3 separate regions of the Homo sapiens genome follow, and all the other regions are linked to region 3. The links are contacts of gene promoters, found by promoter capture Hi-C in blood cells and fetal thymus (Javierre and others, 2016). All regions are on one chromosome and are shown on one strand. Each heading gives the region's core, a stretch centred on a gene start or on the middle of the fragment in contact. The rest is flanking DNA. Distances are from core to core; before and after follow the strand shown. Region 1 has its middle 24 kb from the start of EQTN. Region 2 holds the start of PLAA (phospholipase A2 activating protein). Region 3 holds the start of TEK (TEK receptor tyrosine kinase).

Region 1 (4,834 bases), core at 2,321-4,820, 160 kb before region 3:
TACAGAGTATAACTACCTGAAATAACAAGAATCGACTTTAGTTTTCAAAATAATTATAAACTTTTGTAATTTATAAGTGCTGAAGTTCTTTTATGACATAAAAAAGAAATTGAAGAAGCAGTTCAGTGAGTAGTATTCCTTTAACATTTTTGTGTTTAAAAAAGTGATATTTAGGCCAGGCGTCATATATCATGCCTGTAATCCCAGCACTTTGGGAGGCCGAGGCAGGTGGATCACGAGGTCAGGAGATGGAGACCCTCCCGGCCAACATGGTGAAACCCTGTCTCTACTAAAAATACAAAAATTAGCTGGGTGTGGTGGCGCATGCCTGTAATCCCAGCTACTCTGGAGGCTGAGGCAGGAGAATCGCTTGAACCAGGGAGTCGGAGGTTGCAGTGAGCCGACATCGCACCACTGTACTCCAGCCTGGCAACAGAGTGAGACTCCGTCTCAAAAAAAAAAAAAAAAAAAAAAAAAAAAGATATTTAATAAACTTTCTGCATGGCAGAGTCTATACTTCCAAATCACAAATGAAAACCTGAATTTCAGTTCTTCATAGAATAGTTGGGTGTCCTTGGGCAAGTTATTTAATTTTTCTGAGCTTCAGTTTCCTTATCTATGAAAGGAAAATTGAGTGCCTACCCCAGGGTCAAATATATAAGTACTTAATAAATGCTAGTTACCTTCCTCTTATTTCTTACAAAGTTTTTTTGGTGGCTAACATTATTTCCCTTTAACTGCAAATGTTGTGGTGTTTATAGTTTTAATTTTATTGTGCTATGTAAAAAAAAAAAAAAAAAAGCCAGGTGTGATGGCGCGTGCCTGTAGTCCCACCTACTCCCTGTTACCCCCTCCCCAATTCTTGTATATAAATAGTTTTTGGCTTTGTAAATAACTGTCCTTAAAATTCTCACAAGTTGAAATAATTGGACTAAAGATAAAGAATTTTAAGATTTTTAAAGCATTCTTTAAAAATCTTATTGTCACTGTATTGCCTTCCAGAAGGGTTTTCACAATTTATAGTCCTTCTCAATGTTTCAGAGTTCTCTTCCCACAAACCCTTACCTACGATGCACATTATAATTTTTTAAAGCCTGCAAATCTGGTTAAAATTTTATTGCCTTATCTTATATTACATTTCTTTAATTATTAGTGAAGCTAAACATTCTTTCCCATGTTCCATTCTCTTATAACAAATGTTGCTGTGGAGAAGTCTGCTTGCCTGCTATTTCACCCTTTGAGTCGTGTGATACTTTTGTCTGCCTATCCAAAGGATTCTTCCTTTAATTCTGAAGTCCAATAACTTTAGTAGATATGTCTTATTAGCTATTCTATTTTTTCTGTCTACATACAAAGTATCACTTTTGTATGAAATTTAATTTTTTAGTTAAAACTTTCTTAAATTATGTTTCAGTAGTTGTTCAGTTTTATTATTTCCTTATTTCTGGGGATACTCCAACTATGCATGCATTGGATCACAATCAGCGTTACAAATGTGGTCAATTTACTGTGTGGCTGGCTGTAAGGCCCCCAACGAGCTTCTATGATAGAAGAAAGGCAAAATTATCAATTTTATCAATTTTTCATCATTTTCATTTGTTTTATGTTGCTGCCCTATAGGCCTCAACCAATAAAGAGGTCATTAGACCATTCAGGGTACCAGTCCCACTGCTAACAAGCCCCACTGGAATCATTCGGGCCCAGCAAAGCAGTACAGATAAAGGCTGCCATAAAGAATGGGAAGGCTTTTATTGATGCCACTTCAGAACAGAAGAAAAATGCATCTACATGTCCAGCCTCTCAGAGCCAAAGGAAAGGTTTGGAAAAAAGCTTTTTTTAAAAAAAAGTCACTTATTTAAGAAATGGAATTTTACTTCATTTTAAAAAATATTTCTTAAAAATCCACATGCTACCAAGTATAGTTGAATCAATGGCACAGTTTTACATGAAATAATATGATTGATATTTAAATATTTTGTCTACATCTTTTTTTTTTTTTTTTTTTTTTTTTTTTGAGACACAGTTTTACTCTGTGGCCCAGGCTGGAGTGCAGTGGCACAATCTAGGTTCACTGCAACCTCTGCCTCCCAGGTTCAGGTGATTCTCATGCCTCAGCCTCCTGAGTAGCTGGGCAGGCATGTGCCATCCATCACACCTGGCTAATTTTTTTTTTCTTTTTTTGTATTATTAGTAGAGACGGGGTTTTGCCGTGTTAGCCAGGCTGGTCTCAACTCCTGACCTTAAAGCGATCCACCCACCTCGGCCCCCCAAGTGCTGAGATTACAGGCATGAGCCACCACTCCCAGTCAATACTTTGTTTATCTCTAAATGATACACAATAGTAGTACTATTTTGCAAGTATTTTACAATTGTTTTATCAATTATCTCAATTCATTCTTCTGAATTATACTGGAGTGGGTTATTGGGATTTTTTTGCATTTGAATGTTGTTTTCTTCCAGGTTGCATGTTTCAAACCTATAAAGGAAGTGTTGTGAAATTTTGAATTAATGATTAAACTCTAATCATCTGAGGTTAATGTCATTAAAATTTATCTTTTCTTTTCCTTGTTCATGAAAACTTCTTAGAATATTCACTCACAATGGACCTTCATCTGAATGTAGTTCTTTCAAGAGAAAACCCAACTGCAAAACCAACCAAATCGTTCATTCCTGTCAAAAGTATTGCTTCTCTTTCTGTTTAGGTATTATAAACTAAGTCTGAACACCAGAATTATATTTCATCATATCCTGCTTACATATAGAGTCCCTGGAAGAGTGGCTATATTTTTTTCTGAAGCTTTCAAATTCAGATAAATGCCAGACCCAATAGAGAAAAATGTCAACATTTTTTAGCTTACCGATGAATATAGTTATTTTCATTATGATGTAATTTGTGTCACTCTTAGATGTTTTGTTGATTCTATCCTTGGAAATAGTAGGCATTGTTTTAGACTTAAAACATCTATGGCTATGGTTAATTGAAACCTACTCAACATTTTTTAAAAGGAAAGTTTCAAGCTGTGTCCAGTGAGGGTGTATATTTGTTTATGTATATGAGACAGAGACAGCTCTTTACTAAATAATGCCATCAGTGATATGATGTTGTAGCCTTCTTTAAGTAATTCTTATTCTACTTGTGGCAGTGATTTTCCTCCCCTGTTTTCCAATTATTTTGTAGCAGAAAACCACCTGGCAGTTTTAAGGTTTTCTCCATCCCTAAAATGTCTTTGTATTACATGCAAACAATTACTGAGAAGTATGATGTTGGCTTGGTTTTATTTTTCCTCAAAGGTGAAGCAGATTAACTGATTTTAAAGTTCTCTGGGTCTTTTTATAAGTCCTTCAGAAGAAATGCTAAGAGTTTATAGCTGGGATCACTTTAATATTAAGTATACTCAAGTCACTCAGAAATTTTAAGTCCAAGCATTTTTCTTAATGATGTGCTATCAGAAAGACATTGGGATACATAGTTGAAGGATGGCAACCTACAAACTTTGCTATATTTGAATCAGAGGAGCAAATCCCAGCTTTAGGAATCTGGTTGTGGAACAGTAGTACAATTAGATGAGTGATCAGCTATCATTGCGTACGTGCAGGTAGCAGCACAGATGTGGCAGTCTCACTTCTCCATTTTGTGAGTTTAAGTAATTTTATACTTTGTGTTTATTCTACCTCTTCAACTTGACACTTGAAATTACTTTTCAATTTAATTTTGATATAACTGACCTAAGGTAGTTTTACTTCTTCCATATACTCAGTAGGAATATTAAACAGAAACATGTCTTCTTTTCTCTAATAACACTTTTATTTTTAACAAGAGGCCAAAAGATACATTTAACAAGATGGCTCATCGGAAAAGACATTCAGTAACATCAGAATTCTTATCCAAAGTACCTGATGAAGTAAGACAACGCTACATCAACCTCTTTGTTGAGAAGTATTTGAAAGTTTGTAAAACAGAGGATGAGGCTGTTTACAAGGTTGGTATTATATAATGTAATTTATCTGAAGACACACACAAAATTATTACATTGAATAAAAAACTCATGGAGCACAACTAGCAAATAACTTTATTCATTTTCTCTTCATTACATTTTCAAAACCAGGCCATGGGACTGGTTCAGTTCCTTCTTCCCTCTTGGATGACTTTTATGGTCTTTTTCAGTTACCAAAAGTCCCCTGGTTACTTCTAGGGGGTCTGGGCAGGGTGAGGACTGTCTGCTAGCTCCATCCTCTGCACAGGGGAGCCCCATGGCTCAGAAAACCTAACAAAGGAAACATGGGTACAGCAGTGGTAATAAGGGGCATGCTTGTCTTATTCCTGATCCTAGGGGGAAAGCTTTAAGTCTTTCTTCATTAAGTACAATGATAACTATGGGGTTTTTACATATAACCTTTATTAAGTTGAGACAATTCCTTTCCATTCCTAGTTTGTTGAGTGCCTCATTGTGTTAGATTTTGTTAAATGCTTTTTTCTTCATCTATTGAGCTGTCACACAGGTTTTATCCTTTATTCTATTAATATGATACATTGCATTGACTTTCTGTGTTAAACCTTACATTTATTTGATAGGTGTTCTTGGTCATGGCATATAATCTTTTTTTATACGTTGCTAGGTTACATTTCCTAGTATTCCATTGAGGATTTTTGTGTCTATATTTATCACAGATATTGTTCTGTAGCGTTTTTTGTTAGTGTCAATGACTTTTTAAAATTGCTATAAAATACACGTAACATAAAATTACCATTCTAACCATTTAAGTGTACAATTCAGTGGTATGATGTGTATTCACAATGTTATGAAACTATCACTACTATCCATTTCCAGAGCTT
Region 2 (4,723 bases), core at 699-3,198, 160 kb after region 3:
ACTTTGAGGCAAGGAAAAGTGACCCCCCACCCCAACTCCTTGTATGGAGATTGAAGCTACATTCATAAGACAAGATTAGAATTATGGTAGAGGCTTGAACTTTGCTAAAGAATAGACATGCTCAAACAATAACTTGGCATTGTTTGATTAGCTTGCTTTTCTTTCTTTCTTTTTTTTTTTTTGAGACAGAGTCTCGCTCTGTTGCCAGGCTGGAGTGCAGTGGCGCAATCTCAGCTCACTGCAACCTCCCCCTCCCGGGTTCAAGTGATTCTCCTGCCTCAGCCTCCTGAGTAGCTGGGACTACAGGCGCGTGCCACCACACCCGGCTAACTTTTTGTATTTTTAGTAGAGACAAGGTTTCACCATGTTAGCCAGGATGGTCTCGATCTCCTGACCTTGTGATCCACCTGCCTTGGCCTCCCAAAGTGCTGGGATTACAGGCGTGAGCCACCTCACCCAGCCTAATTAGCTTGCTTTTCTATAGAGCCTCCTGCCCTGGAGTCACGTAACCAGAGGTCACAAGATTTGTAACTTCGCCAAGTACTCCTACAGATAACATCACTATTGTGAAACCTAATTAACTGGTCTTTGAGATATTTTTCAAATTTAGCATTTTGGCAGACCAACAGACACAACCTGGACCTGTGAACCCCACTCCTCAGAAATGACTCAGGTTCACGAAGATAGTTCTGACACACCTGTGATTCATCCCTGACCCAACCAATTAGCATTTCCCATTTCCTAGCCTCCTGCCCACCAACCGATCCTTTAAAAACCTAGTCTCTACATTCTTGGAGGTGGATTTGAGAAATATCTCCCATCCTCCTCGTTGGCTGGCCCTGTGATTATTCATCTTTCCCTGCTGCAACATTTGTAGTTCTCAGTGCATTGGTTTTTTGGAAGGCAGCAGGCAATTACACAGGGAAATGTGAAATTACACATTTCCCTGTGTAAAAGAACACAGGGGCAATTACAGCACGAGGGGAAAACTTTTATAAGGGGTTGGTGGAAGCAAGACTAAGAAAATATACTTACTTGATTGGTTAAAGTGGAAAGTCCTTAGTTAGAGGTTTGTCTGTTTCTGTTAGTTAAGCTTAAGTTTCATTTTACTGTTTACATTGAGTTGGGCTCCAGAGCTGGAACTATCTCAACCTAATGGCCTCCAAATTAACATTTTTTAAACAAGGCAAATTCTTCATGTGTGAAATGGGAATAATACTATCTACCTTGCAGGGTTATTGTGAGAACTAAATGAGAGACTGTGAAAATTGGTAAACTGAATACTATACCAAGTTGAAAAACATTTCCTATTATATAGGAGGCAGTAAATTAGATGGTTAAGATTCATGTAAAATAAAGGTCTTGATAATAATAAAATGTAGTCCGGTAGAAAAGACAGACATAAAAGAACATATTAGAATGCAGTAAATACTATATTGACAACAGACAAAACTGCATTGGTTCCCCAGAGGAACTAGAAAAAAACAGAAGATAAACTGGTGTTGAACTATGACAGATGGAGAAAGTGGAATTCTAAGTTTAAAAAAAAAATGCATGTACAAAGAGCATAGAGACATGGAGAGCATACAGCATAATGTGTTCAGGGAATTGTGACAAATTCGAAATGTCTAGAGTAAGAGAGATAACAGAGGGAGATGAATCTAGTAAAACAGATTAGGGAGATTGTGTGAAAGGCCCTATGTAATGCTGTACTATAAGAATGGAAAGCCGGCCAGGCGTGGTGGCTCACGCTTATAATCCAGCACTTTGGAAGGCAGAGGAGGGCAGATTATGAGGTCAAGAGATTGAGACTATCCTGGCCAACATGGTGAAACTCGTTTCTACTAAAAACACAAAATTTAGCTGGGCATGGTGGCGCGCTCCTGTAGTCCCAGCTACTCGGGAGGCTGAGGCAGGAATCGCTTGAACCCGGGAGGCGAGGGTTGCAGTGAGCCGAGATCGCGCCACTGCACTCAGCCTGGCAGCAGAGCGACACTCCGTCTCAAAAAAAAAAAAAAAAAAAAAAAAAAAAAAAAAAAAAAAATAATGGAAAGCCATCACAGGTTGTCAAACAGAGAAAAAACAATTAAGTGTATATTTCAGAAAGATAATTATATTTTAATGTGTAGGATTGGCTGGAGAGAAGGGGTAGAAAGGCCAGAGAAATGTTGAAATAATTTAAGTAGGACTAATTGGTACAGATTTCTAACAGATAGCTAGAAATACAGATCTAGAGTTTGGAGAAGACAATATGGGAATACAGCTCTAGAAATAAGCCAAGTAGTAAATAATCCACCCAGGGAGGGGATATGATAGCAAAGAAGTATCAAAAGTCAGCATTTCAAGAATGATCTCCCAAACCAGGGGAAAAGTGATTCCAAACCTAGAGTAGGAGTTTTAGGAAGGGAGAAGTCAGAAAAGTGTGAATTGGGCTTAGCAATTTAGAAAGGTTTGTGGAAAAGTGTAGTTGGATGCGAGAGAATAGCGGATGGGAAGAAAACAAAGTAAGGAGACAGGTCATGTTTACCCTGGCACTCAATAAGGTCTGATAATGACTAGCAAGTAGCACCACGGGTGGGTGGGCGGCGGGGTTGTTAAAAATACGTATCTCAGCTCTAACTCAGACCTACTGAATCAGAATCTACATTTTAACAAGCCGCCAGAGAAAAGTAGTTATACCTTTAAAAAATTGACTTGGACCACCGTATTTGCTAAATTTGACAACAGAGAGTAGGAGATTCAGATAACTTGAAACGGAGGAATAGTTCAATGATTAATAGTTCCCAATTTGGCCTCAAGCTTTCTCGTTTTAATTGAAAAACAAGGTTAACTTGCAAAAACCTCGAGATTCTCAGGGAAAAGCAGTGAGGATGACCTAACAGTAGACACCAAACAACCTCACTCAGCCATTCCGCCATGCCCAGCGCGAAAGACTCAGGTTTAAAATATCCGGATTCGGCGCGCCGGATGTCCACGCCAGCTGGCGCGGCATTATGGGAATTGTAGTCCCGGCCCGCTTCCCGATTTACCACAAACTGTTGGGCCCGGAGTCGGAAGAGACCCGGGTTTGGGAAGGACCCCAGGGTCAGGCGTCCTGGTGGAAGGGCGGGCCTCTTTCTCTCTTGCTCAGCAGGGAGTCCAGAGCCCTGGAGGAAAGCCAGCTCAGCTCCGCATCGGCGTCGGCGGTTGGGACGCACACACTCTGCGTCATGGAGGGCTGAGGCCGATGATGAATTCCGGAGTGCCTGTCAGGCTTGCTGTGTCACTCGGCCCGCTCGGCGCGCCCCTTCCCAGCCGCCCTTCCGTACCGGCTCTCGGGCTCTTCCGGTCTCCGGCCGCCCCTTACCTGCAGGCTCTTCTCCCGCCGCGGCCCGGCGCTCTCCGAGTCGCCCCTGCGGACTGGTCTCGCACAGTGCCTGGGCACCGGGCGCCAGACAGACACTGGCCATGACGAGCGGCGCAACCAGGTACCGGCTGAGCTGCTCGCTCCGGGGCCACGAGCTGGACGTACGGGGCCTGGTGTGCTGCGCCTATCCGCCGGGAGCCTTTGTGTCCGTGTCCCGAGACCGCACCACCCGCCTCTGGGCCCCAGACAGGTGAGCGCTGGGAGTCGGGTTGCCCCGGCTGTGTTGCACGCTTCCCGGAGAGTGGAAGGAGAGTGACCCTTCCCTGTCAGTCCTGCCGTCTCTCTCTCCCCCCAGCCTTCCCTCTGCTCTCCGCTCCCTTCCAATTCTCAGACTATTAGAACTCTGTAAGAAACCATCGGGATTTAAGTGGAAAGAGCACAGGGTTGGGGGACCAAAGACCTGCCTTGTTGTGCTAACTTGACCACAGACGAGTCTCCTACCTTTTGGGCCTTCAGTTTTTGGACGATGATCTCCCAAGTTTCTTTTAGACTTGAAAATTTACTGATTGCAGTTGCACCCTCCGAAGTGAGGTAGTTTGAAGGCATCTGAAATGTCCTCTTTTTTTTTTTTTTTCGAAGAAGATGCTCTGTAGTCTTCTGTAAAATTTAATTTTTGAAGACTTTAGTTCTCAAAAATTGCACTGGTGAATCCTCTTTTCGTCCAGGTTAGAATTTTAGTCTGTGGTCTGTGCTGGTCCTGAGGGAGTGAAACCTCTCGGATGTTTTGTTTCTGTGCATGTGCTGTTTCTTGAGGAGAAGCAGCATCCATTGCCTTCAAAGGATTTATCAGAAGGGTTCACGAACCAAAAAAAAAAAGAAGAAAAAGGTTAGGAATCAGTCCTGATCGAGTTCACGGGTTCAGCCCTGATTTGGCTGGTTGTAACAGGATATTTAAGACCTAGAAGACAGATTGCAGTTCAGAGAAAGAAAAATTGAGGTTAGTTATTTTGTTATTTAGTAGGTCTCCCACTGCTAGAGATTTTAGAATTTGAGTCACCATCCATAAATTCAGTTGATAACTGTTGAGTGCCTCCTCTTTGTTTGGGATACTGGAGAGGAATAAAGACAGACAAGTTGCCAGTGTTTCTGGAGCTTTCTTACAGTCTGATGGGGAAGATAGATTAAAAAACAAGCCAATAAATAATTAAAAACTGGCATGTGAAGAAAACATACAGTTAATTAGGTGGAGAGATATATTAAAGGAAGCCTCTCTGAGGAGTTGTTTGTTTAAAGTTGACATTTGAAGCATGAGATGGATGGAGCTGGTCGTGGAAGAGCAAATAGGGAGGATTGAATTGGAAGAGCATTCCAGGCAGC
Region 3 (5,055 bases), core at 1,587-4,086:
CCAGGCATGGTGGCGCACGCCTGTAGTCCCAGCTACTCGAGAGGCTGAGGCACAGAATCACGTGAACCTGGGAGGCGGAGGTTGCAGTGATCTGAGATCACTCTACTACATTCTAGTCTGGGTGACAGAGCGAGACTCCATCTCAAAAAAAAAAAAAAAAAAGTCAAGTGACACAGTAAAGAGGTATGAAAGCATGAGACTAGAGACTTCCTATTAGATCATTGTTGATCACGTAGAAGATACTATGATAAATCACAGTGATTTTTTTGTTAGTTTTCTACATATACAACTTTTTAAAGAGAACAGCCTGGTTTTATGAGGAAGAGTAGGGAAAAGCTAATATAATAGAACCTGTTTGAAAGCTGAAGTTAGCAATGATTCTCAATTCAGAAAAGGAAAGCAACAGAATCTAGGAGTATTTGTAAGGAGCTTCTGAGAGCTACACATCCCCTCCAGCCCTCTTATGGGTAAACAACTCTGTCATCCAGAGCCACCTTCACTAAAAAAAAGTGGCTTTTTTTTTTTTTCAGTCTGTGGGTTCAGAAAAAAGAAACAAGAAACAACCCACTGGACTAGAGAGATAAACCTTTAAGCCATAAGCCCCTTGCTCCACTGCTTTAGTCTACCAGGAGTTTGACTAGAGGAACGGGCTCCTATGGCTGTGGACATTATCTAGCTGGATTCTTGTTGCAATTATCAAGCCTTGAGCAGTCATGCTCATGGAGGCTTAGACTAGGAATGCAAGCTACGATCAAGACAACAGACCTACCTCAGAAACTAACCTTGCTAGTGTCACCCTTCCTAACAAGAACATGAACCTACTTCCTCTCCTTGGTCCTCTGCCTTTTAAAGGCAGTGCTGTTTTTTCCAGGGATCTGAGGTCTAGACATGGAACAAGTATTTTGGCTACATACCTTTTTGTTTGATTTTATGACAATTCTTCTAAGCCTGTATTGCAAAGTGCTATAACACAGTTGCTTTAGGAGTAAAAAAAGTGAATGAAAACAGTTGTGTGTGTATTAACCTACAAAGTACCTCAGAGAAACTATAGACACCTGGGCTTCACATCACTATAATCCCTGGTATAGAGTAAGTTCCAGATTTCATGTCACTGGTAAATAATGGCACTCAGAAAAAAAAAAATCAAAAATGGAATCATGATAATTATTTGAAGTACATATTATTGGAGAAGTCAACATTATTTAAACAATTTCCACATAAATACTGAAGCCACCTAAAATCTTTTAATTTTTAGCAACTTGTGTTACACATTCTTAAAGAATATTATTAAATTCTCAAAATATTGGTTGTTGAGAGCTATAAAACAAACTGTATTCAACTCAGTTATTTCATTGGATTTGTTTTTTGAATATTTAATAAAATAGTTCAAACACCTAGAAAATATAGCAGATACTTATGTATACTCGAATCAAATTATATTAATATGCCCTATATCCATGAAGTTTAGTGAATTTTCCCAAATTCATCTCCAATATCAATTCGATTTTCGTTATTAAAATTAGAATGTTTTCAAACCGAAGGGGAGAGACTGATGGCAATGATAAATGTATTTGTGATATGTAGTTCAGGTTTGGATACTGCCTTCTACCTATGTCACATAGGCTGAGTGAGCTACAGAGGCACACCACTATCTGGAGTATCTAAGCAATAAACACGCTGAACCCAACACACTGGCCAACCACTCCTTCACTCTACAACAGGCTTCATATACTCTCCTGTGTTAAAGATTTTGGTAACTGCCTAAATTTTTGTTTCATTGGGCCAGTAAACCCTTTATGAATTACTACATGGCAAACATTTTTTAAAATAAAACAAAAATTCTAATAGCCCCAATCTCCCTGACCCTAACTACAAGAAAAAAAAAAAAGCCTACAATTTCATTGCTTTGCTTAAAATAGGATGTAGATATAAAATCTTTTTACAGAAAAGCATCTTTGTTCCCTTTTAACAGTGACAATCTATACACTGCCTTAATTGGGCCCCTGTATTTCTCAGCATGAATTTCATTTTTTACTGAAGATTTTCTTTAAAGCAGGTAAAACCGGTTTGTTCTTTAAAAAAAAAATCAATAAGAAAAACACTCCAGAATGAGGAGCAGGAAAATAATGCATGATAGTAAGGGGATCTCTTCAAATAAGATGATTTAATCGGTCCTCAAAGAGTTTCTAACACAGGGGCCAATCACCCAGAAGACAAACTAGCAAAATCAGTTCATGCCACAGAGCCTTTGCATTTCAATCCTTCCACACATATTGACTGGAGACTCACAGAGAAATGGTGCCTTTGCTACAGCCACCCCTTGTTCATCAGCACTGATGAGATTTGGGGAGAGCACCCAGAAATCACTAACTCTGTTTTTTAAAATACTAAATTAAAAAAAATAAAGCCAAACCTTACCAGAAAGGAGCAAGCTGACTCCACAGAGAACTAAGCTGGCTAAAGAGTCCATGCTTCCCCAAATCTCTCCATCCAGTTTCCACAAATGTGCATGAGGTCCCAAGGATCCTTTCAAAAACCCAGCGGTTTGTGACTTTCCATTAGCATCGTCCTACTACGTCTTGTTTACAAGTTAGAGGCAAGAAGGAACAGCACAGAAGCAGGCTGTAACAGTCTCATTTCTGTCTGAGCACAGGGAGTTTTAAGTTCCTTTTTCCTGTTTCCTTTGTAGATTAGGATGGGAAAGGCTGTATCTTAAAGGCATTTGGTATCAGCAGGGCTGGGGGCACTCAAGCCCTATCCATCTCGCAATTCATCAAAACACTTATCTGTTGCTGTTGCTTCTGCTGCTGCTTTTGCTGCTGCTGTAGGGGCAGAGGAATTTTTGTTGGAAGTGTGGGTCCCGGTCAGCATTTTCAGAAACAATAGGGGTATCCTCTCATAGGCGGGAAACTGAGAATAACAAGCCCTCCACCTATGTATGGTATGCGATGATGACCAATCCTTCTCAGACTTCTAACAGCTCTCCCGGGGCTACTGGGATCTCTGACAGAAGGAGCTTTTGGGTGTGGGAAGCCGTTTTGGCTTTTGTTTTCTCATTTTAACCCACATGGTTTGAATTGGGAGAAGAAGGTTTCCGTGATGAGAAAATACAACCTGAAAAGCAATTAATTTCAGTGAGCACCGGTGAGGTCAATGCTCAATGTAGCCCCAAGAGACCAGAGTCCAAAATTGTTAGCCTGTTTTCTTTCACACAGATGGCCTGTTGGTTGGCCATTAGCCCAAAGATACCCATGTTGCCGGCTATAGCTTTAATTTTCATTAACAATTCATCTAAAGGTGATCAAATTTCTTGAAGAAGTTGGCATAGAAGGATTTTGGTAATGAGAAAGATTTGGTAGTCATTGAGCAATGGTGTTTCAGAAGCAAATTATATATAACATTTAAAAACTAATCTGTGTAAAAACACAAACATACAGGATTAGATTGGGATAAAAATGGTGCTCATGAGAGCAAAGAGAGTTCATGGACCAAAATGAAAATAGCCATGGAATGTACAATATCTAGAATGAGGTCAGAGACCCTACACTTATCCAGATAATTACTCCACAATATGAATTATGACATTAGATTAGAGAGTATACACTTTGCTCATCATCGACCTTCATGCCTGAGGAAATCATTATACTCCTCCTTTTCCTACCCACCAGAGGAAAAGGCAGATGCAGCTAGTCTTGACTAATTTCTGTCCCAGGTTTTATCACATCGATGATGATCTTAAGAACCAATTAATGTTTCCAGTTTGCAGGTGTGAAAAAGCCCAGGTTCTGTCTGCAAACAGAACTGGGTTCAAATACTGGCTCAGCCACATGTGTAGCTGAGAAAAGTTACTTAGTCTTTTTGAGCCTCAGTTTCAACAGCTGTGAAATGGCAAAAATATCTCCTTCCCAGGTGTTTTGAGAGGAATAAATGAGGTTTAAAAATATAAAACCATTTGGTACTATGCCTAGTTCTTTGAAGGTTCTCATTAAATGTTAATAAGTTTATTTTCTTTCATCTTTCCATTCAGTCTCAATTTAAATTCCAAGAGCTTCTACTAAAAAGCTATTTTCTATTCCTATGAGATGACTTTAAATTTGTCATCACGAAAAAAAAAAACAAAAACAGTGGGCCTGGCACAGTGGCTCACGCCTATAATCCCAGCACTTTGGGAGTGGATCACCTGAGGTCAGGAGTTTGAGACCAGCCTGGCCAACATGGCAAAACCCCATCTCTACTAAAAATACAAAATTTAGCTGTGCTTGCTGGCGTGCACCTGTAACCCCAGCTACTCTGGAGGCTGAGGCAGGAGAATTGTTTGAACCTGGGAGGCAGAGGTTGCAGTGAGCCGAGATCGTGCCACTGCACTCCAGCCTGGGTGACAGAGCAAGACTCTGTCTAAAAAAAAAAAAAAAAAAAAGAAAAAAAAGAAAGAAAAATGAAGTTCCACACAGGCTAAGTTACTTGCTCTGCTGTGAGTAGCAGAGGTAATAATATCTGAATCCTGAGCTCTGGACCTCCAATTTTTCCCTTGTTTCATAGTTGAAAAGTAGATCAAGAGTAATGTAGGACATCACAAACACCAGCAGGGTACACCTAGACCTTACAGAAGTATTTGAAATGAAACTTTGACAGATAAGAATAGTTTGGTGACACTGAGAAGTGCGGTCAGTTCTTAGTGTGCTTCTGAAATAACTAATGTCAGGATCGGTGGGTGCTGTATTAATTCACTTCAGGAAAATGAAAGGGGCCTCCTCATGAGTCAAGCTCATTCCATTTAATTTGATTTTTCCAGACATACCTACAGTAAAAGCATAAAGAAAACCAAACCAAACTAAACAAACAAACAAGGCTCTTGGCTGATTCTTCATTTTCTATTTCCTGCTTTTTGCACTCAATACATGAAAAACACTATAGACAACATTAAAAGTCTTTGAGACTAATTAACAAAGGTATCAATAGATAACAAAACGGTTTTTCTGAAAGAGGTGGAAAATAACTTACATAATACTACTATACACTGGTATCACATGTCAAGAGGTCAACATCACAAACACA

The links. Contacts are between HindIII fragments. The CHiCAGO score rates a contact against its expected background, and 5 or more counts as called.
Region 1: a contact is called between a fragment that was not itself captured here and the fragment with the promoter of TEK in region 3, in 1 of 17 cell types (endothelial precursors). The highest score is 7.4, in endothelial precursors.
Region 2: a contact is called between a fragment that was not itself captured here and the fragment with the promoter of TEK in region 3, in 1 of 17 cell types (endothelial precursors). The highest score is 5.0, in endothelial precursors.

What each region holds. Positions count from the first base shown.
Region 1 is chr9:27,271,073-27,275,906 of GRCh38, reverse strand. It overlaps the pseudogene REXO6P. Among named protein-coding and RNA genes, the nearest start is that of EQTN, 24 kb to the left of the region's middle. The HindIII fragment of the contact is 1,542 bases long and covers 2,800-4,341 here.
Region 2 is chr9:26,945,770-26,950,492 of GRCh38, reverse strand. PLAA (phospholipase A2 activating protein) reads left to right here and starts at 3,251. Exons shown (of 14, transcript NM_001031689.3): 1 at 3,251-3,596. The coding sequence starts at 3,448. It also overlaps a transcript of IFT74 not described here. RefSeq lists enhancers at 2,928-3,237, 2,827-3,500, 3,498-3,757, 3,501-4,176. The HindIII fragment of the contact is 1,706 bases long and covers 1,096-2,801 here.
Region 3 is chr9:27,107,006-27,112,060 of GRCh38, reverse strand. TEK (TEK receptor tyrosine kinase) reads right to left here and starts at 2,836. Exons shown (of 23, transcript NM_000459.5): 1 at 2,419-2,836. The coding sequence starts at 2,470. The HindIII fragment of the contact is 9,085 bases long and covers 1-5,055 here.